Regions from separate parts of the Homo sapiens genome. Here regions 1, 2, 3 and 4 are each linked to region 5. Evidence: promoter capture Hi-C in 16 types of primary human blood cells and fetal thymus (Javierre and others, 2016). All regions are on one chromosome and are shown on one strand. The core of a region is centred on a gene start or on the middle of the fragment in contact, and the rest is flanking DNA. Distances in the headings are between cores, read along the strand shown.

Region 1 (5,021 bases), core at 2,467-4,966, 3.5 Mb after region 5:
GAGGAAGTAATGGTTAAATTTTGGGGATTTGGATTCAGACAGTATTGGGCTAGGTGACCTTGGCAGGTTACTGGCTGCCCAGAGCCACAATTTCCTTATTTGAAAAGTGAAGCTAATAACAGCACAACCTTAAAAGGGTGTTGTGAGGGTTAACAGTTTACAGACTGGTATGTGAAAGATAGAAAGTGTTAAATAAATGATAGTTTTCAAGCTGTTCATGACAACTCCACTTCTCATTTCAAAGCTTCTTTCAATAATAGGAGGGTCGTGCCTTCTGTTGAACATACTGTATAACCCAGGTGTCTTCAAATCTCCTGAATTTCTCAGATGGTTAATTTTGTGTGTTAAATAGAATTATGGTTAATTTTATGTGTCAACATGACTGGGCCATGGAATATCCAGTTATTTGGTCAAACATTATTTGGGGTGTTTCTGTGAGAGTGTTTTTAGGTGAGAGTAACATCTACATTGGTGGATGAAATAAAGCAGACTGCCCTCCCTCATGTGGGTGCCTCATCCAATCAGCTGAAGACTTGAATAGAGTAAAAAGGCTCCCCCAAGGCAGGCAGAATTCTTGCCTAAGTGTCTGAACGGAAACATTGCTCTCCTAGTTCTCAGGCAATGCAGTCTCAGACTGGAACTACACTATTGGCTCTCCTGGATCGCCAGCTTGCCAACTCACCCTGCAGATCCTGGGATTTGTCAGCCTCCATAATCGTGTGAGCCAACTTCTCATAATAAATGTCTTTCTATACATAGGCAACCTATTAGTTCTGTTTCTCTGGGAGAATCCTGACTAATACTCTTTCCCTAACTAAAATGCTGCATACAGTTGGGAGCCCCTGAAACCCATTTTCTTACCAATGTTTAGTAAATGGTCTAGGTTTGGGAGAAGAATAGGGCTATTTTTAATGGGCATTTGTCACTAAACTTTCATTTCTCCTGTATTCTCAATTTTATCACTTACCTTTCCTTAATACTATAGTTTCCACCCTACATTAAATTATTTCTTCATGCCCAAACATCACTTTCCACACTTTTACTAAAGGAAACAGTGTTATGGCCCAGGAAGGGCAGGTGACTCCCAGACAGCATGGATCTAAGTGGCTGGGAGCCAGGGGTCGGGGGAGAATTTTCACTGATTGCACGTCATATCATGAGAGTTTTGAGTCATATGAATTCATCACACTAAAAAAAAAAAAAGGTGGGAAAGAGGTAGATTCTTGCCCATCAAGAAAATCCTTCACAATTTCTTTCTGCTTGTTCTTTAAAATAAATAATTATTTAGAAGATTGCCATTTCCATACAGTTCTAAAAAATCTATTAATATTTAAATATTACAGTAATAAAAACTAGTATTCATTGAGTATTTACTGCTCCAGACTCCACTCTAAGCACTTAATTACTAAGTACTTTGATCCTCAGAATATCTCAAGGAAATATTATAATTAAATATATACTATCTATAATGAATAACAGATATATTATACATATAATAGAATATTATAGTTCAAATTTTACAGAGGAGAAAACTGAAAGTTACAGAGGTTAAGTAACTCACTGAATGTTGAATGTTCACTCCTGGTAAAGCAATAAAATCAGGATTAAAACTTAGGTAGTTTAGCTGTAGAAGTAAGAAATAGAAAAAAATATATACTCTTAAATCTGATGGAGAAGGGGAGGAAAAGGAGGTTATAAGGAAGTGGAGTTATATGATTTTAGGATTGCTGAGAGTGGATGGTCACTAGATACATTCTAAACAGAGGATGAAGTGTATATCAGTTATGGTCACAGAGATTACTATAAAATACAAAAACAAAACCAATCCTTTCAAATTATAAGGAACATAAACAAAGCAAAGGAAACACAAACCATACCCATGAAATACTTTTTTAAAAGAAGCAACAAAAATAGAAATAATAATATAACTATGATGCAAGTAATACCACATATTTATTATATCAACGACTAGAAATTATCTAGAAGTTCTTCTATTAAATTAGAAATTTCATATTGGAATACGATGTCAAACTCCTAAAACAAAATTATTCAAAGTTGAAAAAGAATGGAAAAATACATATCAGGCAAATGCAAACAGAAAGCAGGACTTAAGACCTTAACATCAGACAAGATTCACATAAATTTTAAAAGCATTTTATAATGGAAATTAATATATTTTTAATTTAAGAAAGCAAAATCACAAATCTTACATACATATGTGTTCACTAAAACACATAGAATCAAAATTCGTAAAGCGCAAACTACAAAAAGTACACAGAAATATAGGCTGAAATATATTATTTGTAGAAGACTTAACCTCACTCAGCCTGTGTTAAGACTGCATTATTTGTTCATTACCATTTGTTGCCCCCTCCCATTCATTCTTTCCATCCTTCTCTGTAGGCAGAATATACTTTTTTATCCCATTCACTTAGGGGCTTAACTATGCAATCTGCTTCAAACAAGGGAATGTGGATATGTGACATGCATGTGACATGGACCCCATATCTGAGCATGAACTTTAAATGCACCTGTGTAGTTTAGCCCTGCCTCTCTTGTCCATGCCAGAGCTGGGATAAGGATGAGGTGGGTGAGACAAGGTCTTGCAAGTGCAGGGTGAGATTCTGTGTTTATTTAAAATTTTGGTATTTCATTAATCATGGATTTTTGCATGAATTTTTATTTTTAAAAATATTATATTAGTATATTATTTATCTTGATAACAGAGTGTTTCAGAGTCTGTTGTCAAGACTTGCAGGCAAGGCTTTGCAGGCAAGGCCAGTGTCCCATTGTAGCCCTGGTTCCAGCCCTATACCATGAGAATGGCATGTACTCAGAGCGTGACATCTTCCTCAGCCTCAGGTATGAAATGAGAAGACCTGTGGAGCTGGACTGAGCTGAATCAAGCTGAATCAGTCTAGATTTTGGACTTGCATGGGGCCTGTAGCTCCTTTGTTGTGGCCAATGTCTCCCATTCGGAATGGCTGTATTTATCCAATGCGTGTACCCCCATTGTATCTAGGAAGTAACTAACTTGCTTTTGATTTTACAGGCTTATAGGCGGAAGGGACTAGCCTTGTTTCAGATGAGACTTTGGACTGTGGACTATTGAGTTGATGCTGAAATGAGTTAAGACCTTGGGGAACTGTTGGGAAGGCATGATTGATTTTGAAATGTGAGGACATGAGAGTTGGCAGGGACCAGGGGAGGAATGATATAATTTGGCTCTGTATGGTTTTATCAAGGGTCTCCACTTTTGCGTCTTCCTCATTCTCTCGTTGCCTGCTGCCACCCATGTAAGACGGGACTTGCTCCTCCTTGCCTTCCACCATGATTGTGAGGCTTCCCCAGTCACATGGAACTGTAAGTCCAATTAAACCTCTTCCTTTATAAATTGCCCAGTTTTGGGTATGTCTTTATCTGCAGCGTGAAAATGGACTAATACGTTAAGTTGATACCAGTAGAGTGGGGTGCTTCTGAAAAGATACCTGAAAATGTTTTTCTCAAAAGATCAATATCATTTTATATTTTAATTGATTTTAAAAAGCTTTCCTCTAGGTTGTCTCTGGACAGTTTTAAAAATGACTAAGGCTAATGGGTGTTCCCTCACTTACATGAGAGAAATAAACCAGGAATTTTGGTTTATGAATTACGTTTGTGAATTGTTTCATGCTGAAGGGCACAGAGTTGAAAGGAAATTTTTGGATTCACTTGGGGTGGTCCCTGATTTCTGACAGGAACGTGACTAAACTCTTCCTGAATTGGTGTATTAATTCAAAATAAAAAATCTGTAGGAAAGAAATTCCAAAACTTTCATTTGTATTAACTCAGTTTTGGGTTTCATAACTCTGGCTGTTGGGAAAATGTCTAATTCTCTTAAGGATATAAGCTTCCAACACAGTCAAGATCATTACTTTTATCAAGGAAAACCTAAGTAGCCTAGAGAGTAGAGATCTTATCTTCAAATGTTACAGATAACACCTTGCACAGAACATTACAGATAGTAGATGCCAAATAAATATAGACGCCAATTAAATTGAACTGAACAGCAGGGGTGAAGTTGTTGGGCAGCAAATAACATTACTGACTTGAGACTTCATTGCTGTGTCTTTCTCATTTCCTGACATGAACACTTGGATTCTGTAAAAAATATTTATTCAGAACAAGAACAATGCTGACTTTTCTATGAAGATCATTCAGTGATTCATTCAACAAATATTTGTGGTGCAGGTGCCAGGCACTGTCCCAGGTTCTGAATATTTTCACTGCGTGCTACTGTGTTTTAAATAATAGTGTGCAATCCTAAGAACGTAAACTAACTAAAGGTTTCTGATATGAGAGTTTAATGAGCCCCTGCTCAGGGAGTTTGCTGTGAACCCTTCACTGAATGTGGTCACATTCCCTAACATCACTAATTATGTAATGCCAAGTCCCTTAAGAATATCATTAGGTAACCTGCACTTCCCCATCAAGAATCTTAAAGTGAGGGAGTTAACAGTGGGTTAAGAAAGATAATGTGGTTGCTAGAAAGAATAATAGACCAGGAATTCAGAAACTGAGCTGTGAAGTGCTGTCATCTCTGTCAAGTCACTTAATTCACAGAATCTGTTTCCCTATCTGTAAAATAAAATTAGAAAAATGTTAAAGCGCTCTTTTAGGTTTGATATTCTGTAATCTTGTTAATAGATCTAATTAAGTCTAAATTCTAGGAGGAAGATAAACTCTACATTAAGAGTTTTGGCTCAATTCCTATTAATGGTGCAAAAATTTCTCTTATGTTGTGACATCAAAAAGAAAATACAAATAAACAAAGAAATAAATGTGTATGTAAATATTATTTTAAAGTGGTCACCAAGAGCACCATTTGACAGGTAATTTGACCCTTCAGTGCTTTGTCAAATATACTTCATGATTTAGCTACAGCAGGTATTTCTTCACTTCTCTTTGTAAATTTTTCTTTATCCAGATGGCAGAGGGGTTGAAAAAAGGTGGGGGGAGGGGCTGGCTACTGCATATTTATG
Region 2 (5,128 bases), core at 1,502-4,001, 3.0 Mb after region 5:
CCTTCTTGGAATGAGAGGACGTTCAACTTTTTTCTTCAAATAATGGTAGCCCAATTTTAGATCTTTTTGATTTCTTTGTACATGTATAGTAGCTGATAACCACAGGTCTCTTAGCAAAGTGGCTAAGCAATTGTGAAAATCTAAAAAGTACGTAGAACACGTGTCAGTGAGTTTACACATATTTATAAGACTGAAGTATGGGTTCAGGTTGATGTAATAATGGGTCAGAATTCATACAGATACTATAGGGCTTGTTCATTACACGATAAATGTACAAATTAATACTTAGTGACGCTGTGGAATATATGTGTGCACTTGTGCATATGCATGTGTATGTATTTATAAACTTATATGTTTATTTTATTTTTTGAGATGGAGTCTCGCTCTTGTTGCCCAGGCAGGAGTGCAATGCAGTGGCCTGATCTTGGCCCACTGCAACCTCTGCCTCCTGGGTTTAAGTGATTCTCCTGCCTCAGACTCTCGAGTAGCTGTAGCCGGGATTACAGGTGCCCGCCACCATGCCCAGCTAATTTTTGTATTTTTAGTAGAGATGGGGTTTAACCGTGTTGGTCAGGCTGGTCTTGAACTCCTGACCTCATGTGATCTACCCGCCTTGGCCTCCCAAAGTGCTGGGATTACAGGCATGAGTCACTGCATCCGGCCTTGTATGTATGTTTAAAATTTGTTGTGCTTTTCTGTAACACCAGGTTAAAGCTTCTAATTTACAGCCTTTCTTTTCTGATGAGATAAAGCAATTGAATAACCTTTCTCAATTTTCTGCTTGTGATATCAACAAGCAGAAGAATATTAGAATATTGAACTAATTGTAGATGTTTAAGGTTCTTGAAGTAAGGAAAACAAAATCCTTGTGATATGTTTGGATGTGGGGAAGGAGGGAAAGCATTTATTACCCTTTCTAGTTTGAAAATGCGAGCTACCTGGACATGGGAATGAATGTGACACGTAGACCCTACCATACCTTCACTAGGATATTTGCCAAATTTACCTTTATGGCTTCAGAAATCCAAATTGCTCTCTCATCTCTAAACAGCTGTTTGATGGTTTAATTATACACATTTTTCTAAAAGTGCTTTTAGTTTCAGAAACATTAAGGAATAAGAGAGATGAGGTGTGCTAGGACAGCAGTCCCCAACCTTTTTGGTACCAGGGACTTGTTTTGTGGAGAACAATTTTTCCACAGACGGAGCAGGGATGGTTTTGGGATAAAATTATTCCAGCTCAGATCATCAGGCATTAGTTAGATTCTCATAAGGAGCGAGCAACCTAGATCCCTCCTATGTGCATTTCACAATAGGGTTTGTGCTCCTATGAGAATCTGGTATGTCGCTGATCAGACAGGAGGCGGAGCTCAGATGGTAATACTTGCCTCCTGCAGGGAGGAGGGATCTGTGTGCTAGGGCTGGAGAGCCCTGTGCTAGGACACCTTAGTTTTTGGAATAGTCAAGAACTAAAAGCTCTATGATGAAGTGATCAATACTTTTTTTGTTGTTGTTGGGAGAACTGATGATGGAGTAGCCTCATCTTTTGACTAGGATGGGGCGGGAACTTGGGGAGAGGAGGCAAGGATCAGACCAGACTTAAGAGAGAAATTGGAGTGCGATATTAGTTTGCCAGGGCTGCCATGACAAAATACCAGAGACTGGTGGGTGGCTTAAACAACTCATTTCTTTTCTTTGTTTTGCTTTTTTTTTTCTTTTTTCTTTTTTTGAGTTGGAGTTTCACTCTCGTTGCCCAGGCTGGAGTGCAATGGCGTGATCTCGGCTCACCGCAACCTCTGCCACCCGGGTTCAAGCAATTCTTCTGCCTCAGCCTCCTGAGTAGCTGGGATCACAGGCATGCGCCTAGCTGATTTTCTGTTTTTAATAGAGATGGGGTTTCTCCATGTTGGCCAGGTTGGTCTCGAACTCCCAACCTCAGGTGATCCACCCGCCTCGGCTTCCCAAAGTGCTGGGATTACAGGCGTGAGCCACAGTGCCCGTCCCCAGTGCCTGGCTAATTTTGTATTTTTAGTAGAGATGCGGTTTCTCCATGTTGGTCAGGCTGATCTCGAGCTCCCGACCTCAGGTGATCTGCCCACCTCGACCTCCCAAAGTGCTGGGATTACAGGCATGAGCCACCCATGCCCAGCCAAACGCATTTATTTTTTTACAGCTCTGGAAGCTAAAAGTCAGAGATCAGCAGGGTTGATTTTCTCCTGAGGCTTCTCTCCTTGGCTTGTAGATGGTGGTCTTCTCCTTATGTCTTCACATAGTCTCTCCTTTGTGTGTTCTAATCTCTTTATAAGGACATCAGTCGCTGGATTATGGCTCCTCACCCTATGACTTTATTTAACCTTAATTACCTCTTTAAAAATCTTTATCTGCAGGCCGGGCATGGCGGCCCATGCCTGTAATCCCAGCCCTTTGGAAGGCAGAGGCAGGCAGATCACCTGAGATCAGGAGTTCGAGACCAGCCTGGCCAACATGGCGAATCCCCGTCTGTGCTAAAAAAAAAAAAAGAATACCAAAAATTTGCCGGGCATGATGGCACATGCTTGTAATCCCAGCTGCTCAGGAGGTTGAGGCAGGAGAACTGCTTGAACCCAGTAGGTGGAGGTTGCAGTGAGCCGACATTGCACCATAGCACTCCAGCCTGGGTGACAAGAGTGAAACTCCGTTTCAAAAAAAAAAAAAAAACCTTATCTCCAAATACCGTACAGTCACACTGGGGGTTAGGATTTCAACATATGAATTTGGATGGCACACGATTCACTCTATAACAAGCACCATGTCTTTAGCACTGGCTGAAAGCTAGGGAGTAGCTGTATGCCCATAAAACAGTTGTTTTTACCCTTCTAGCGGTCACAAGCCCTTTTGAGAGTCTGGTAAATGCTGTGAACCTTTCTTTTTTTTTAAAAAAGAAAAATTCACCCACATAACTTATCTGCTCCCTGCTCGCCGCCCCCCCACCCAATTTCTGAGATTTCATGGACTCCTCTTCCTTGAATACAAACATGGAGTTCAGATCAAGAGGCTCTGCTCTTTGGGCTGGGTCTCCTGTTTTCTTATTTCATTCAGTTCAACAAACTGAATATTGAGTGTCTACCAGGAACTGGGAACACAGTTCCTGTCCCTAGGAATTTATGTAGTTTTCTCTAGAGCTCTGACAGACTCCTTCACCTAGTGAATTCTGATGTCCAAAGTTCAGATTCCTAGGCAGGTTTCCCTTCTGTCTACATTGGTTGTCTCTGCTTTCTCACCTCTCATTCATTCCAAGGTGTTTTCTACCCCCACTATTCAGTGATGCTGCTGTTGTCAAAGTCAGTAACAGATGGCCTCCATATTACCCAGCCTGTGGTGGTCGCTTCTTAGTCCTAACTGAGCTTAAATTGTCATATTCATTCCTTACAGTTAAGTGATGTCTGCTAGAAACATTTAACGTTTCTTTTATTTACTTTTTTTGAGATGGAGTTTTGCTCTTGTTGCCCAGGCTGGAGTACAGTGGTGCAATCTTGGTTCACTGCAACTTCTACTCCTGGGTCTAAGTGATTCTCCTGCCTCAGCCTCCTGAGTAGCTGAGATTACAGGTGTCAGCCACCATGCCCAGCTAATTTTTTGTATTTTTAGTAGTGACGGGGTTTCACCATGTTGGCCAGGCTTGTCTTGAACTCCTGACCTCAGGTGATCCACTTGCCCCGGGCTCCCAGGGTGCTGGGACTACAGGCATGAGCCACCATGCCGGGTCCATTCAACATTTCTTTGGCTTTTATATACTGTATTTCCATGATGTTCTTCCTACCACAGTGGCTATTATTTTTTCTTAGCTTCTTCTCATTCCCTAGAATTTTCTTTTTTTGACCACAACCTACAATAGAAAATAGATTATTCCTAATATGTTCATAAGTGTACAGATTACATGTGTTAGTCCATTAATACATCTATTTACTTATCATCGATCTCTGAAATAAAATGTTTATGGACTAGTACTTGCCTACTTGCCCTTACTGTATGAGAAGATTCTATTTTTTTCTATTATGTTTCTATAATATACTGCAAATACATTTCCCTTTTCTTTTACTCCCCAAGGTCTCCTATCCAGTCCTAGAGATTTAAATGTCTGCTCTAGCTAATGACTCAAAAATTTGTTTCTCTAACTCTTATGTCTCTCCTGAGACCCAGGCTCAATGCATCAGACTTTTTTTTTTTGAGACGGAGTCTAGCTCTGTCGCCAGGCTGGAGTACATTGGCGCGATCTCGGCTCACTGCAACCTCCACCTCCTGGGTTCAAGGGATTCTTCTGCTTCAGCCTCCCGAGTAGCTGAGATTATAGGCGCCCGCCACCACACCCGGCTGGTTTTTGTATTTTTAGTAGCGATGGGGTTTCACCATGTTGGCCAGGATGGTCTCAATCTCCTGACCTCGTGATCCACCCGCCTCAGCCTCCCAAAGTGCTGGGATTACAGGTGTGACCCACCGTGCCTGGCCCATACTACATGTTTTACTTGTCCATCATCTGTCTCCCACACTAGAGGGTAAGGCCCAATGAGGGCAGGCATTTTGTTTTCTTCACTACTATATCCCTGACACCTACAGAAGTGTCTGGCACATAGTAGACACTCAATAAACATTTGTTCAACAAATGAATAGATGAATGCTGCAGAATACCCAAGCTCCTACAAATGAAACACCTGATATGCCCAATGGAGATCTCAATACAACAGATAAGAGTTTATTTCAATTCTGTTACTCCAGTTCTCCTAGTGGTGAGGGTAGAGGTAGAGAAGCATCATAAGCTTTACAGACCTAAATAGCCACTATATATTTTTAGACATTATTAACCGTGGTAGATGCTCCATCCATTTCTTTCTCTGCTTGCCATTGATAATACATTTAGCTGACTTAATAGTGTGGATTTATATTTTGACTCTGTAAACATTATTCTCTGCTGGTTAAATAGTGTAATATGACCACACTTTCATTTTTACATGGTTCTTCAATTTTTTGAAGTTAATACATAATTGCCTTTTTAGCTTACCTAGTATTACTTTGGTACATTGTTTTTTTGTTTTTGTTTTTGTTTTTGTTTTTTTTGAGAGGGAGTCTCACTCTGTTGCCCAGGCTGGAGTCCA
Region 3 (4,743 bases), core at 2,146-4,645, 3.3 Mb before region 5:
GGGTTTAAACCAGCTTCAAGTTTGAGAGTTACCAATTTGGATCTTTAGACATGTTTTGTATGTCTCCATGTAACTTCTTTTGACGTATTTCAAAGTAGACTTCCTGGGAGTACAGAAGTTTGGAAGGCTTTCTGTTCTTCTGGATAAATGATTCTCTTGTTTCACATGTATTTATAAATAAGTTCCTAAGAGACTTAAAACTTGCGAAGACTCTCTAGACTCACCTTTATGATGCGTTTAGGGACCTGGGTGTTGAGGGACTTAAGGAAGCATCTGTAACAAGTAGAGCCCTGTGGCCCCAGGGATCCTTTCAGTTGTCTTCTCTTATGGGCGTATTATTGCTGTTGGCATAGAATAGAGCTTTGTTGTCTGCGATGTTAGTCTTCTAGCAACTTTTTTGTTGCTTTTTAAGAGCAAGTGTTTGCAGAAGTTCTCAGGAGGAAGCTGCCATCTGTAGAATTAAGGGTAAGGTTGTTGCTTCTCCTTACATTGTATGTGGTCAGTATACCTTAGCTGGTACTGAAAATGTTCCATTCTTTTCAACCATTTTACACATTAGCTGTGCCCCGCTGTATTCAGGATACTATTTTAGGTCATTTGGGGATGTAAAAGAAGAAAAATCTCCCTGTTCTCAGGAGCTTTCCTTCTAGGAAGGAAAGTGTTGTGTGTCTGGAAGACACAGAAATGGAGGCTAGGATGTTTGAGGTTGAGGTCTTCCAGGTGAAGTCTGTACAGGGGGAAGTACATAGCATGAGGGTATGGGGGATTTTAGTTTCTACATTAGATCATTCTTTGGTTGTTTAGTCATGAGTGTTCACTCTTGGCATTTGCTTTTATGAGTATGATTACATAATCAGTTCCATCAGTGGATGAGAGTAGCACCTTATACGTAAGTTGTATCCTATGTGTGTAAGAATGATTCTGAAGACAGCACATTTCCCATTAGTATATTATGAACTAAGTTTAGTTCCTTCTGTGCTTATTCTATATCTTCAGGTTTCTGTTCCTAACAGAAGTTATTAATGAGTAACATTTTGTACTAAGTTTGTGTTCATTTAACGTTTATTGAATGCTTGCCATATGGAGGTTTCATGGGGAAATACTGAGGTGTGAGAATGGTTCATGCTTTCAAGGAGTGTCTGTTGGGGAGGAAGTAAGTATATTGCAAATAAATGATACACCTGCACAATTGAACTTTTGATTCTGAGTTTTATTTTAGTTTTGGAAAAAAAGGTATTATAGAAGTATAGTTCAGGTGATAAATTTAAGTATGTGTAGTAAATATGTAGTGGTCAGTATCTTTCAAGGCAAAATTTGTAACTTTTCTTTTACTTGTAGGCAACACTGTGACTATGTTACCATTGAAAGTTGACATTGAAAGTTTTGCATGGCAGTTGAGAGCCTAGATTTGGAGTCAGACAACCCAGTTAGTGACTTCCAACTCTATCACCTTGGGTAAATTAGCCTTGAAAGCTCAGTTTCCTCATCTGTGAAATTGGGATCAGTGTTTCCCTTATAGAGCTATGAAGTTTACATGAGAACATATGTAAAGCCCACCCTAAAATTCCCATGGCAAGCACCCAGTAAGTGATGATGATTGTATGGTAACTGGCTTAAAATGCCTCCCTGAAACCTGGTTTTGTTTCTAAAGGTATAGAGTTGTATTGTTTTCATAAAGGCAGTATTATCTGTAGGGCAGAAGTGATACGCAATTGTAAATGAACGCGATAGTCTGACAAGGCTGGGAAAGACACTAAGATGATGTTTTGTGGCCAAGTCAAGGGTTGTTAGTTGCCTTGTTTTGTCCAGTTCTGCCTAAACTGAAATAGAAGTTTTCTGTTTGGCCTCAGGCTCCACAAATCTAGAGGGATATATTGACAGGAGGAAATGTGAAGTCTTGCTTCTTTGAACTCACATGGTCTGGTAGGAGGACAGGTCTGCAGTAACTGGGAACTTGGGTGAGTTACCCAACTGCTGAGCCTTGGTTTTCTCGCCTAAAAGAAATGTCTCCAATACTTAGCATGGAACCTGGTATGTAGTAATAGGTCTTTAGTAAATGTTTAAATGGCTATTGAAACTAGGCTTTGTGAACAAAAAATAAAGGAACAGATCCTGGAAAAGATGGGTAGAGCATGAACCTTGCAAAATTTGAAGAGTTACTATTAGTTGAAGGATGGAATAGATTTACTCCCTACTTTTCCAGCTGCTAGGATTGAGGAAAAACGGATTTTTGATGCGGCGTAGGTTAGAACTTCATAGTTTTCACAAAAAGACAAGCGTCCTTTACATCACGCTTCTAATGTAAAGGGCCAGATAATACATATTTTAGACTTGTGGGTTATATTATGGTCTTTGTTGCAACCACTCAGCTCACCTCATGTAGTGCAAAAGCAGTCGTAGACTCCTATATGAATGTGCGCTGTGTCTCAAACTGCTTATGGATAGTAAAATTCACTTAGTATATTTCATATCATTTTATGTGTCATGAAATACACATTTGTGTTTTTTTTCCAATCACTTACAAATGTAAAAATGATTCCTAACTTGTAGGTTCCACAAAAATAGGCAGTGGGCTGGCTTTGCCCTGTAGGTTGTTGTTTGTTAAGCCCTGCTGTAGGTGATCAACTGTCATAGTCTGTTTAGGAATCTGGGTTTACTCAAGGGTTGGGGATGTATGGAAGTTAGACGGTATTTCTAACTTTCATCCCAGCTCTAGACTTAGAGCTGGAAGATCTGGGTGGTAATCCTCCCTCCTTTCCTCCTTCCTTTCCTTTCTTTCTTTCTCTTTTTTTTTTTCAAGAGTCTTGCTCTATCTCCCAGGCTGATGTGCAGTGGCTTCATGTTGTCAGCTCACTACAACCTCTGCCTCCCGGGTTCAAAGCTATTCTCATGCCTCAGCCTCCTGAGTGGCTGGGATTACAGACGTGCACCACCCCCGCCTACGCCCCCCCCCCCCCGCCCCCGCCCCCGCCCCGGCTAATGTTTTGTATTTTTAGTAGAGACAGGGTTTCACCTTGTGGGCCAGGCTGGTCTCAAACTCCTGGTCTCAAGTGATCCGCCCACCTTGGCCTCCCAAAGTGCTGGGATTACAGGCATGAGTCACTGCACCCGGCCTTCCCTTGTTCTTAGAAGCTTGTTAAGTAACTCATCTTGTACTTGTCTTAACTATCCTAAACTTTCTCATCAGTAAAATAGGAGGATGATAACCAAATAATTGAGGCTTAAATGGCATTAGCGTGTAAAAGCAATTCTACAAAACGTTTTCCATTTTTAAAGAGGAAAAAAAACCCATCCAACTCTCAAACCATGAAACCAAACCTGTTTTCCCTTCCTCAAGATTTAGGATTTGAAAGTATTCTATAAACTGATTATATCACCAGAGAAAGCTGTGAGGTCAAGAGGACCTTAATTTATTTAGCAGTCAAGTAACCACCATGAGACTTTGTTCACGTGGGACTGAATAAGGAACGTATGCTGTAGTAAAATGGAATAAGTATTCTCTTTATTTGTATGTCTTAATAATTCCTTTTTTCCTCAGTAGATGTGGAGTTATTCCCTTGAGAACTCCTGTAATAGTTAATTCAAATTTCAGTAAGCTCTCAATGATTAGTCTTGACCTTCTGAGAGAATATTTATGTTTTCATTTTCAAAAATGGAAGTAAGCTTTTAAGAATGAAATCGTATCTGGTGTGTAAAAAATTGTTTTAAAGTTGATTAGTTTGACAGGATGATCAGGATTTGCAGGGGAAGGTAGGTCTTTTGAATCTTTCTTCCTACTTTGCGATAAGATTCCTGCTCTCTCCTGTGCACCACAAGGCTTTTACTTACATTGACCAAAAGCAGTTGTGAATAAAGTCTCAATCTGTAGTTCAAATGGAAGTCACAGAGACCAGGACACCTTTCATGGATGTTGGCCAAGCTAGGTCAGCGTATGTTGTATATGGTGTAGCTGTCTGAAAAGATTGGAATCACCAAAATTAGTAAAGAAAAAGAGTTCATTTGACTTCAGGAGTTGATAGTGAGGCAGTGAGGTCAAACATGCATGTGTGTTTTGACAATAATAGCCTATCTTAAATGCTCTTTTTCCTGTGAGTTGCTGAGAATATTATTTATTCATTTGCCCCAGCAGCAGTGTGGAGACCTCTCATGTGCTCTTCCTTTGAACTACTTTCAATTCCTGTGTACCAGAATAGCGTTTTTTTCATTCTTGCTGTGATATCTAAGAATCATAGACTGTTCCCTCGTGCTCTATAATGATTTTAACCACGGAGAATATTTTCATGGTATGTAGGCAACACTTTCTTCGCATTGTTCTGGTTCACAGTTTTGGATAACTGTGATTCACAAAGCCAGGCCTCAAATGAATTCTTTTGTAAATAAGGAGTGATAGTTTTTATATTGTGAGCACTCCTAGGTGGAACAGGACCAGCCTGGGGTCTTTTTTCAATTCAGATTCTTGAACCCAAACCACGAGATTATAATTTTCAATGTTTGGATGGAGACAGGAATCTTATGTTCCGAGAAGCTTCTTTTTGGAATGCAGGTGGATTTAGGAGCCTCTGGATACGCCCTTCTGTGTTTCAGACCCTTAGGCTCTGCGTGGAGGTGGGTGGGGGTGGGTTGGGGATCTGCCTGGCGGAAGAGGAGCTCTCGGTGGACCAGACTGGTTCTTTCTGCAGGCTCCTTGACCACTGCTGGTTGTTAACTGAGTAATTCCAGGAAGGGAATATTAAAAACATCAGG
Region 4 (4,706 bases), core at 1,082-3,581, 3.1 Mb before region 5:
TTTTTACAATCTGCTTCGTTGTTCTTATACTCATGCCATTTAACCCTCCTTATTTCTGTAAGCATAAAGCATACTTTATGGATGTGCTTGCTAACTTTAACATCTTAAGTCTTTCTGAGACTTAACGGCCTGCTTCTGCCCCTTGTTTCTGCTGGTTCTTGTCTATTTTACACTTGTGATTTTTTTCTATGAACTTACATTCCTTGAAACTCTCCGAGTTCCTCCAAAGACAATCTGTTTTGCTTCTGCCAGTTACCTGTAAGGCAGTAAAATCCTGTTATCACTTGAAATTTCCCTCTTGAGATTTTTTAAGACTATCCAGGTGGTGCAAACAAGCCACCCTAAAAACTGCTGTTATATATAAATCCTGTGGTTATATATAGGCTCTCAAGTAAGATGTTTTCCCCCAGGACAGAAATCTTCCTTGCTGTTCACAGGGGTTGGGGGGATGGGTGAAGCAGATGGATTTATTCCTAGTTTACCCCTACATTGCATCTATCCTTTTGGAGTCTCACTTTATGAGGTCTCCTGTTAGTTTTCCTCCCTTGGGCAGGCCCTGAGCTTTGTGTGCTGTTCTGCAGCCCCTTCCCACCCCAGGCTATGAGAAGAAAACTTCAATTTGGCATTTGGCAGATGCACTAAGGCGGAAAAGTGGCGTCAGTACTCCACTTACTTCTTTGGGTTTCTGCTTCCATTTACAAAAAAAAAAATTTTTTTTTCCCTTTAAGAACTCTTATTTTGCAGCTCTTGTTTTTTACATTAAAAAAATGGTTCTTCAGACAAAAAACCAAACACCGCATGTTTTCACTCATAGGTGGGAATTGAACAATGAGAACACATGGACACAGGAAGGGGAACATCACACACCGGGGCCTGTTGTGGGGTGGGGGGAGGGGGGAGGGAGAGCATTAGGAGATATACCTAATGTTAAATGATGAGTTAATGGATGCAGCACACCAACATGGCACATGTATACATATGTAACTAACCTGCACGTTGTGCACATGTACCCTAAAACTTAAAGTATAATAAAAAAAAAATGGTTCTTCATATGTATTCTAAAGTTTTAGTTGTTTTCAACTGGTCCTTATCAGCCTTACTGCTGGAAATAAAATTCTTTCAACCTGTTCTGTAACGATTTACAGTATCCATTGATCCCTCTCTGATCCAGAGGCATTAGCGTGAGAACACACTTAGGAACTAGGCTGGCCTGAGATCAAGTCTCAGGTCCACTGCCACTATAACTTCGGTAGTGTATTTACACACTGTGCCTCAGTTTCCTCAAAGGGTTGGTGTGAGATTCTAACATGGTAATATATAAACAGCACTTACAACAGGGACTGGCCCTGGTAAGGATGAGATTTCTTTTTATTATCTGAAAAAGTTGTAATGAACAAAATATATCTCAACCAATGGAGTGAGATGGGGACCAATATCCCCGGTCCCTGGACATCCTGGCCCAGTGTACCACATAGTAACCCACAACCCTGTGCTTATGTTGACAGAGAGAAATCAACTATGAGCTATTCACTGGACAGCAGGCCTTGCTGCCATCACAGATGGGTCTCAGGTGCAGGGCAGGATGCCAGCAAATGCTGATCTGAGAAATGTCACCATCACACAAGCCTGAGTGGACACACAGACCTTTTACCATTAAGAAATCTGAAAGCAAGCGTAAATGTAAGTAAACACGATTTTTAATTTTTATTTTTTATGGTGGACAGTGATCATTTGCCCCAACAGCCATCTGAAGCCAATAGTCCTGATTATTAAAAATCACAAAGTTATATAAATGTTCTCCTCCTTTTCGAAAACCATGTTCATTTTTTTCCCAAGAAACAGGGCTGTCTGCAAAGCCTTGAACGGACAGTGTAACCCATGGAGCTAACTTCGGTTCATCAAAGTAGTGACTGAAAAAAAGGTAGTTGTTAAACAGAGTTTTAAAAGAGAGTTAGGAATGTCTGCATTTTAAAAAATTTATTCAGGATAAGTAGTATTTCTGATATTCTAATAAAGCTTAGATCTTAGCTTTAATTTTTGAAAATCAAGAGGTGTGTGATAAGTTCCTGATGTCACACTGTGAACTCCATAAGGATTAACTAATATACAACACATGAAACAAACCTCAGCTGTTCCCACCCTCATTCTGGGAGGTCTTTAAGACAAAAAGAACCCAAAACAAAAAACCCCACAGGCGTTTAAGGATCCTTTCCCTCCTATTAAGAGTACTGTTCTCAGAGTCTCAGTTAACTGAAACGTTGCAGGATAATTCACCAGATTTTTCATATCCAGCCTTCCTATCGAAGAAAGTCAAAGTACTAAACCAATAAATGTGAAAAAGGATGTTGGGCTTAAAAAGGAAAACCTTCAAGACTTAAATCTGACATTTCAAAAGGGAAGACTGAGAAGATATGCTTACTAAATAGGATTATACTCAATGTACGGTCTTTGCAATAGGCGATTTGAGTTCCTTTCAATGTACATTTTATTTATATACCACCTCCCAAAATGAAAAAATCTATACTATTCGACATACTGTTCTATAGAGCACTGATGAGCGATATAAAAGGTAAAGAGTTCTCACCAGAGATGTTCCAATAGGAGACAGATCTTCTCTGGAAGTATGAAGCCAGTGATTGTACACAAATAAGCTTTTGCCACCACTGTGCTTGGCTCAGGACAGCAATAGGTTGATATGAAATTATTAGGCTCATTATTTCTGTCACCAAAAAAATAAAAGAGAGAGAGATAACACATGTATATCCATCACATGATCACTTCCAAAGTATTAAACTCCTATTAAAAACAAGCAGCAGGCCAGAGCCCTGGAAGACACAGGGAGTTCAGATACCCACAGGTCGACATTACTGAAGACGGCGCCGAGCCAGTCGAAGAGCTCCAGAGCCCGGCAGGACACCTCTGGCGTTCCCTCCAGCTCGCTGCTCTGCAGCACTGGGCACTGGAGATCTCTCAACGTGCTCAGTGCTACTTTTGGCTGATGCTCCTGAATTTGGTACTTGGAAAAATATGACATCATTGTCGATTCTTCTGAACCTTAAAAACACACCACACAAGGCCATTTGAATCCATCTGACCATCGTAAGCAAGTTTAGTGAATACCTGAACCCACCCATTCCCATCTGAGCGGTAAGATTGAGTAAGATGGAAGCTGTGCAGAGCTGCATTCAAATTAAAATCATTTAAAGCTGCTTTCAGCTCCTTTTGCTCAAGTTCTGTAAACGTTCATCGTTTTTCACACTTTTCCTGGAAAAGCACAACAGTTTCTGATCAGACCCAAACTAGTTTCACTGTTTGTGCTAATAAAAAAATTTCAACTTCACACTTAAAACCAAAAGCATTCCTGATGTATGAATAATATTAGTGAACTCCAGAGAGAAGGAGCTTATCTGCACAACCTCTATTAAAGAAAAAGAAGAGAAACTGAATGGTGATTGAACCTCATCCCAGCTTGACTTTGAAAACCCAATAAAATCCAGCGTATCTTTTCAGGGATGTTTGTGTAGCCAACGGCCTTGGAAGACAGAGATAGTACTCCCTCCACGGCAAAGGGCAGGCTTGCTTACTGTCCAGTATAATAGAAATAATGTCACCCTCCCTCTCTCCGGGCAGATATCAGCAGGCTTACTGTCCCTTACAAAGGACTGGAGTTCTTAAACTCCAGGTTCCTCTCCTGTAATGCAACCTACTGCATGTGCCAGCATCGCTTGGTGTCACTCTGGAAATGGGACTTGGTGAACTGGTGCAAATGGTGATATTCGGTGTGATGGTTAATTTTAGGTGTCAACCTGACTGGATGAAGGGTCATCTAGATGGCTGGTAAAGCATTATTTCTAGGTGTGTCTGTGAGGGTGTTTCTGGAGGAGACTGGCAGGTGAGTGGGTAAACTGAGTGGGAAGATCTGCCCTCACTGTGGGTGGCACCATCTACCCGGCTAGGGCCCCAGGTAGAACAAAACGTCAGAGGAACAGTGAATTCGCTGTCCCTTGGAGCTGGGACTCCCTTCTTCCCCTGCCCTTGGACAGCAGAACTCCAGGTTCTCTAGCCTTTGGACTCTGGGGCTTGCACCAGCAGATCCACAGGTTGTCAGGCTTTGGCCTTGGACTGAGAATTATACCATCTTCTTTCCTGATTCTCAGGCCTTCATATTTGGACTGAGCCAGGCTACCAGCATCCCTGGGTCTCCCACTTGCAGACAGCCTGTCGTGGGACTCCTCAGCCTCCATAACTGCATGATCAATTTCCCTAATAAATCTCCTCTCATCCATCCATCCATCCATCCATCCATCCTATTGGTCCTTTCTCTCTGGAGAACCCTGACTAATACATTTTGGCTACTACCATTCCTCTGAGGAATTAAGTCCTGTGTCTCTGACCCAGGGCTTATGTGTCTTCTGCCAGCATCCCTGAGACTGTAGCAGGCTACCTAGTTAGCCTGCAAGTATGAGGAAATCTCAGAACTTTCACAGTCCTGACAAATCCTTAAAATAGTTAGGAGCTTTAGGAATAGGGAGCTATCCAGAATCCAACGTCTGGATGATCTGCATAGAAGACTTCACGCAACTGAAACTTCAATAAGCCTTTCTGCCCTCTTTTCTATCTACCATATATGGAAGGAGAGGCACCGAAGGCCAGACCTAGGACTCATGGGAGCAACTTGGAGCACCCAGTGACGAGACACTTCCCAT
Region 5 (4,756 bases), core at 427-2,926:
TAAAATCCAGTTTAGACTATGGACTAAGAAGAAATCTCATCCACTGCCAGTGGATGTGTACACTGATACAACTACTTTTGAGAACAATCTTTCAGTATTCAATAAAGTTGCAGACATGTATACCTAGCATTTTCATGCCTAGGTATGTACCCTGGAAAACTCTTGCACAAATGAGTAAGGCCATTTATACATATTTATTACAGCATAGGTGTAATATCAAAAGAAAAAACGCAAAACACCTTAACCATACTCATACAATGGAATTCTATCAATCACCAAGTAAAAATAAATACATCAGAGTTACACTTATCAACATAAATATAAAAAATAATACGTATTTTATAATAAATATAATAAAAAAGCAAGTTTCAGAAGGATTAAAGCAATTTACATAAAACTTTAAAATATTCAAAATATTTCCTTTTGGGATATAGACAGAAGCAACAAAACTATAAAGAAATGCACAAGAATAATAAACACCAAATTCTGGATAGTGGCTACCTTGAGACGAGGGAGGGGAACTAGTGCAATTAGAGCAAGACACAGTGGGGCTTTTAGTAATTTATTTATTAAGGTGGGTGGTGAATGTTCATTGTAAGTCTCTTTTTCATAAGTCTGAAAAAGTCATTAAGAAAAGGTCTGAATTTAAGTCTTTTGGTGAGTCAGTTTATTATTCTTCTTAGTTACAACTATGTAGTTTAAAATGTAAGTCTCAAAATTCCTTGAGAAATTAAATCTAAGACAATGTATTATTCATATTCATTCACTGGCAATGTTCCCCAAATTTTTCATTTTTGCAGACATACGATGGGCAGGTTTCAATTCTCTATTTTAATGAATTTTATTAGTACATATCTTCTTAAGCATGTCAAGTAGAAAAAATAATACAAGCACTGTATATAAGCACTTTATATCTGGTATATATAAAGCACTACAACTCAACTGTCAAAGACTTTCACGCAGCAAACAGCGTTGTGAGCTTTAGGAGTCAAACCTAAAGCAGATTCTGTGAGAATCTAGGTTGTAACCTTCTCCCAGCTCAAAGCACACAGAACACATGGACATTTCTGAACGTGAATGGTTCTTTACAGTGCTATAGAGCGCCTTCGTAAGTGTATCTCACTTACTCCTCGCACGACCAGGAACAGATCGGGTAGGAGAGTGAGTAAAGCCAGTGACCCGAAGTCACTCAACTCCTAAGCGACTGCCTCCCGCCTCCCAGGTCCAATGCCCTTTCCACTACACGTCGGTGGCGAGGCTGCCCAAAGGCTCTGCGCCCAGGGGTCCTGAGCTTGCGGAATGGACGGGGGCGGGCCTGATGGCTCAGGCTGCGACAGAGGAAAGCGGGGAAACACGAAGAGTTGGGCTGGTTGGTTGTGGTGGGACGCATTTGGCGCGGGGAAAAAGGCGGGGACCGACCACGACTCCCCCACCCGCACAAACGCACGCGCGCCAGCCCGGGACCCGGGGGTCGGCCCGGGTCAGAGGGCGCCGCCTGGGAGATGAGGCTGTGCTGGGATCCACCAGGAACTATAGCCCTGACACTCCGTACCCTTGATAATGAGGTGCGCTGAGCCCGCAGTCCCCAGGGAGTCCCTCTTCTTGCTGCCACCGCCCGGGGCGGCCTCACAACCCACAGGGGTCTCTGTCCCTCCGCCACTCATCCCGACCAGTTCCGCCCACCCGCGGCCACGCTGCGCCTGCGCAAACCCGGCCGCCCTCTTACAAGGCGCGCCCGGGTTTTTTTTGTGTGTGTGTCATTACAGGGCGCCGGAGAAATTTAATCTACCCAGCGGGCGGTTCCGGAAAGGCGCCTGCCGTGTAGTCAGGCTGTGAACTGGCAGAAGCTCTTGCCGCCATGCTGGATCAGGGCGGATGCTGCTAGAATAGGAAGGTGCTTGAACTTTGGAGCTAAACTCAGAGCCCTGGTTATTTGGCTCAAAGCTGGTGCATTCCAGTACAGTTGTCCTCCCATATCTGCTGAGAATACATTCCAAGACCCCCAGTAGATTCCTGAAACTGCATATAGTACTGAACCATGTATATACTATGTTTTTTCCTGTATATACATATGATAAAGTTTATAAATTAGGCACAGTAAGAGATGAACAATTAGAACAATTTAATAAAAGTTATGTGAATGTAGTCTCTCTCCCAAAATATCTTATTGTACCGTCCTGCGGGTAATGAAACCACAGAAAGTGAAACCTCAGATAAGGGGGGACTACTGTATAGCAAAGCCAATTAGCTGGGGGCTGTTTCCCTACTATGCCATGAGTGTGGCTGACTATTCCTGCCTTTCTTTTTAGACACCTGTTTCCTAGAATGCTTCTCTTGCTCCCTCTTTCTGTTCAAGTCAGTAAACTCACGTTGTATAATAAAGAATTTGACTGGACTTTGACTCTGGTTCCTGGGAGGTACCCTCAATCCTTAGAATTTCCCAAGTGATAGAAGTGTCTTTGTTATTCATGGTGGGCCTCTGGAAATACACCTGAGTTTATGCTAATGAGATGGCTCATGGAGGGCCCAAGATGATTTCAGAATGGAGGCTGGCCACACCAGAAGGGCCGGCCAACCATGAGGGCTTAGGCTTTGAGTCACATAAGCAGGCCCACCTCTGGGGAGCAGATTGGGGCTGGAGACTGAGTTCAGCCATGTGGCCAGTGATTTAACCAACTATGCCTACATAATGGAACCCCAGTGAGTACTCTGGATGTGGAAGCTCAGGTGAGCTTACTGGTCGATAATCATTCATCAAAGTGTCAGGAGGGGGAAGCGTTCCTGAGGACACGTAAGCTTCTATTTGGGAAATCTCCCACATCTCGCCCTATACATCTCTTCATTTGGCTGGTCCTGATATGTGTCCTTTATAATAAAACTGTAATAGCAAGGAAAGCACTTTCTTGAGTTCTATGAGTCATTCTGTGAAACCTGAGGGAGTAAAGCGAATAGCAATGAAACATCATGTGTAGAGAGAAGCTGCGTGGGTGAGAACTGAGGCACCCTAGCAGACAGTGCTCAGGCCCTGGGCATATGACAGAGACAGCTGGTCAGAAGTGCAGGTGGCCTGGGAACCCCAAAGCTTGTGGCAGGTGTCTGAAGGGGAGTCTTGAGGAGGACCATGCTTTGACCTCTGAAGTCTGTGCTAACTTCGGATAGCACTGCAGTTTAACAAACACTTACATGGCACTTGCTACATGCCAGGTAATACTGTAAGTGGTCTACAAATTTGCATTCATTTAATCCTCATGGCCGGCCTTTGAAGTAGTTATTATTAATGTCCTCATTTACAGACGAGGAGGCTGAGGCACAGAGAGGTTAAATGACTGCCTGACTTGTATGTGGCAGAAACAACTGCCTCTGTGTCTCTGTGTATGTGTTTAAGCATAGGTGGTGGGTGAAGAGAGAGTGGGGAAGGGAGATTTGGAGAGAAGGGAGAGAGAAGCCATATTAACTTTAACAGGCCACATGGGCTTTTCATTTTTTCATTCAAAAACATTTAACAAATACGTTATTGAGCAGCTGCTACGTGCCCAGCATAGTGCTAGGAGCTAAGACACAGTGGTGAACAAGACTAATGCAGCCTTTTCCTTTCCTCATGCAGCCTGCAGGGGAGCCAACACTGAATAAGTACACAATTACTTTTCTGCAAGTCTGTTGCTTGTAGCCTGTGAATATGTGTTCTAGCCATTTGATTATACACTATTAAGTTGTATTGTTCTCTGGGATGGTGAGGTCCAGCATATGCCTCTGTTCTCTCTCCGCTTTTATATAAATCTTTACACTGCGGCTCAGACAGCTAGGAGACTGAGAAGCAACATTGGCAGTGCCATTTCGCCTGGCACATTCAGCTGCTATGAGTGTGTCCTTGGTCTTTGACCCATGAAATCTCAAGAGTTTTGAGGCTAAAATGGGACTCTTATCCTTTCCCTGAAGGTCTTGTATTGTCTCTTATTGTCTCTGGATTGACAAGACTTTCCCTGTATTTTTAAATGAAATTTTTATTGAGGTATTTGTAGCTTCTCATGCAGTTGTAAGAAATAATAGAGTTTCCTTTTACACTTTGCCTAGTTTCCCCCAGTGGTAACATTTTGCAAATGCTAATGTTACAACCAGGATATTGACATTGATACAATCCACCAATGTTATTCAGATTTCACCAGTTTTCCTTGTATTCATTGTGTGTGTATATGTTTAAGTTTATGCAATTTTATTACATGTAGATTTATGCATCTATCATCACAGTCAGCATACTGACCAGTTCTGATGCCATAAGGATCTCGTTAAGGTTCCTGTTTATAACCACATTTACCTTCCTCCCTGTCCCCACCCTGACTTCTGGCAACCTATCATCTGTCCTCTATTTCTAAAAACTTTTTCACCTCAAAAATATTATAGAAATGAAATCATACATTAAGTACCTTTATGTTTTTAAGAATAGCTGTACTCACATCATAACCTCTATACAAGATTGGAGAATCAATATCATATACAAATATAAGCATGGGATTGTAAAGGGATTTTTCCAATTACTGTGCTTTTTGAGACTCAAGACATCTAAATCATGGAGATATTGTCAATTTAGTAGAAGTAAAGTTCTGACTTTGGGGGAAATTTTTTGCTGTAATCCCATGTTGAATCTTTTGAAAATTAAAAAATAAATGAGTTATTACATGTATACCAAGAATAAAATTATAATTTATTCCTTAGTATAAGCCCATCAAGGGGAACCATAATTGGCACAGGGTGGGAGATA

The links. Contacts are between HindIII fragments. The CHiCAGO score rates a contact against its expected background, and 5 or more counts as called.
Region 1: a contact is called between a fragment that was not itself captured here and the fragment with the promoter of BLOC1S5 in region 5, in 1 of 17 cell types (naive CD8 T cells). The highest score is 7.6, in naive CD8 T cells.
Region 2: a fragment that was not itself captured here is called in contact with the fragment with the promoter of BLOC1S5 in region 5 in 5 of 17 cell types (naive CD4 T cells, total CD4 T cells, naive CD8 T cells and 2 more); the score reaches 9.0 in naive CD4 T cells.
Region 3: a contact is called between a fragment that was not itself captured here and the fragment with the promoter of BLOC1S5 in region 5, in 4 of 17 cell types (activated CD4 T cells, naive CD4 T cells, total CD4 T cells and 1 more). The highest score is 8.2, in activated CD4 T cells.
Region 4: a contact is called between a fragment that was not itself captured here and the fragment with the promoter of BLOC1S5 in region 5, in 2 of 17 cell types (activated CD4 T cells and total CD4 T cells). The highest score is 6.7, in activated CD4 T cells.

What each region holds. Positions count from the first base shown.
Region 1 is chr6:11,531,679-11,536,699 of GRCh38, forward strand. No RefSeq gene overlaps it. Among named protein-coding and RNA genes, the nearest start is that of TMEM170B, 3.6 kb to the right of the region's middle. The HindIII fragment of the contact is 342 bases long and covers 3,546-3,887 here.
Region 2 is chr6:11,094,989-11,100,116 of GRCh38, forward strand. All of the region lies in intron 1 of SMIM13 (small integral membrane protein 13), which reads left to right. Among named protein-coding and RNA genes, the nearest start is that of SMIM13, 3.7 kb to the left of the region's middle. RefSeq lists a silencer at 1,393-1,472. The HindIII fragment of the contact is 4,078 bases long and covers 713-4,790 here.
Region 3 is chr6:4,777,455-4,782,197 of GRCh38, forward strand. All of the region lies in intron 1 of CDYL (chromodomain Y like), which reads left to right. Among named protein-coding and RNA genes, the nearest start is that of CDYL, 3.4 kb to the left of the region's middle. The HindIII fragment of the contact is 531 bases long and covers 3,131-3,661 here.
Region 4 is chr6:4,993,367-4,998,072 of GRCh38, forward strand. It overlaps RPP40 (ribonuclease P/MRP subunit p40), which reads right to left. Exons shown (of 8, transcript NM_006638.4): 6 at 2,856-3,054; 7 at 2,585-2,719; 8 at 1,351-1,910. The coding sequence ends at 1,712. Among named protein-coding and RNA genes, the nearest start is that of LYRM4-AS1, 8.1 kb to the right of the region's middle. The HindIII fragment of the contact is 635 bases long and covers 2,015-2,649 here.
Region 5 is chr6:8,062,713-8,067,468 of GRCh38, forward strand. It overlaps BLOC1S5 (biogenesis of lysosomal organelles complex 1 subunit 5), which reads right to left and starts at 1,677. Exons shown (of 5, transcript NM_201280.3): 1 at 1,553-1,677. The coding sequence starts at 1,664. It overlaps BLOC1S5-TXNDC5 (BLOC1S5-TXNDC5 readthrough (NMD candidate)), which reads right to left and starts at 1,702. Exons shown (of 13, transcript NR_037616.1): 1 at 1,553-1,702. All of the region lies in intron 3 of EEF1E1-BLOC1S5 (EEF1E1-BLOC1S5 readthrough (NMD candidate)), which reads right to left. RefSeq lists enhancers at 885-1,511, 1,121-1,310, 3,001-3,100, 3,111-3,260. The HindIII fragment of the contact is 8,031 bases long and covers 1-2,794 here.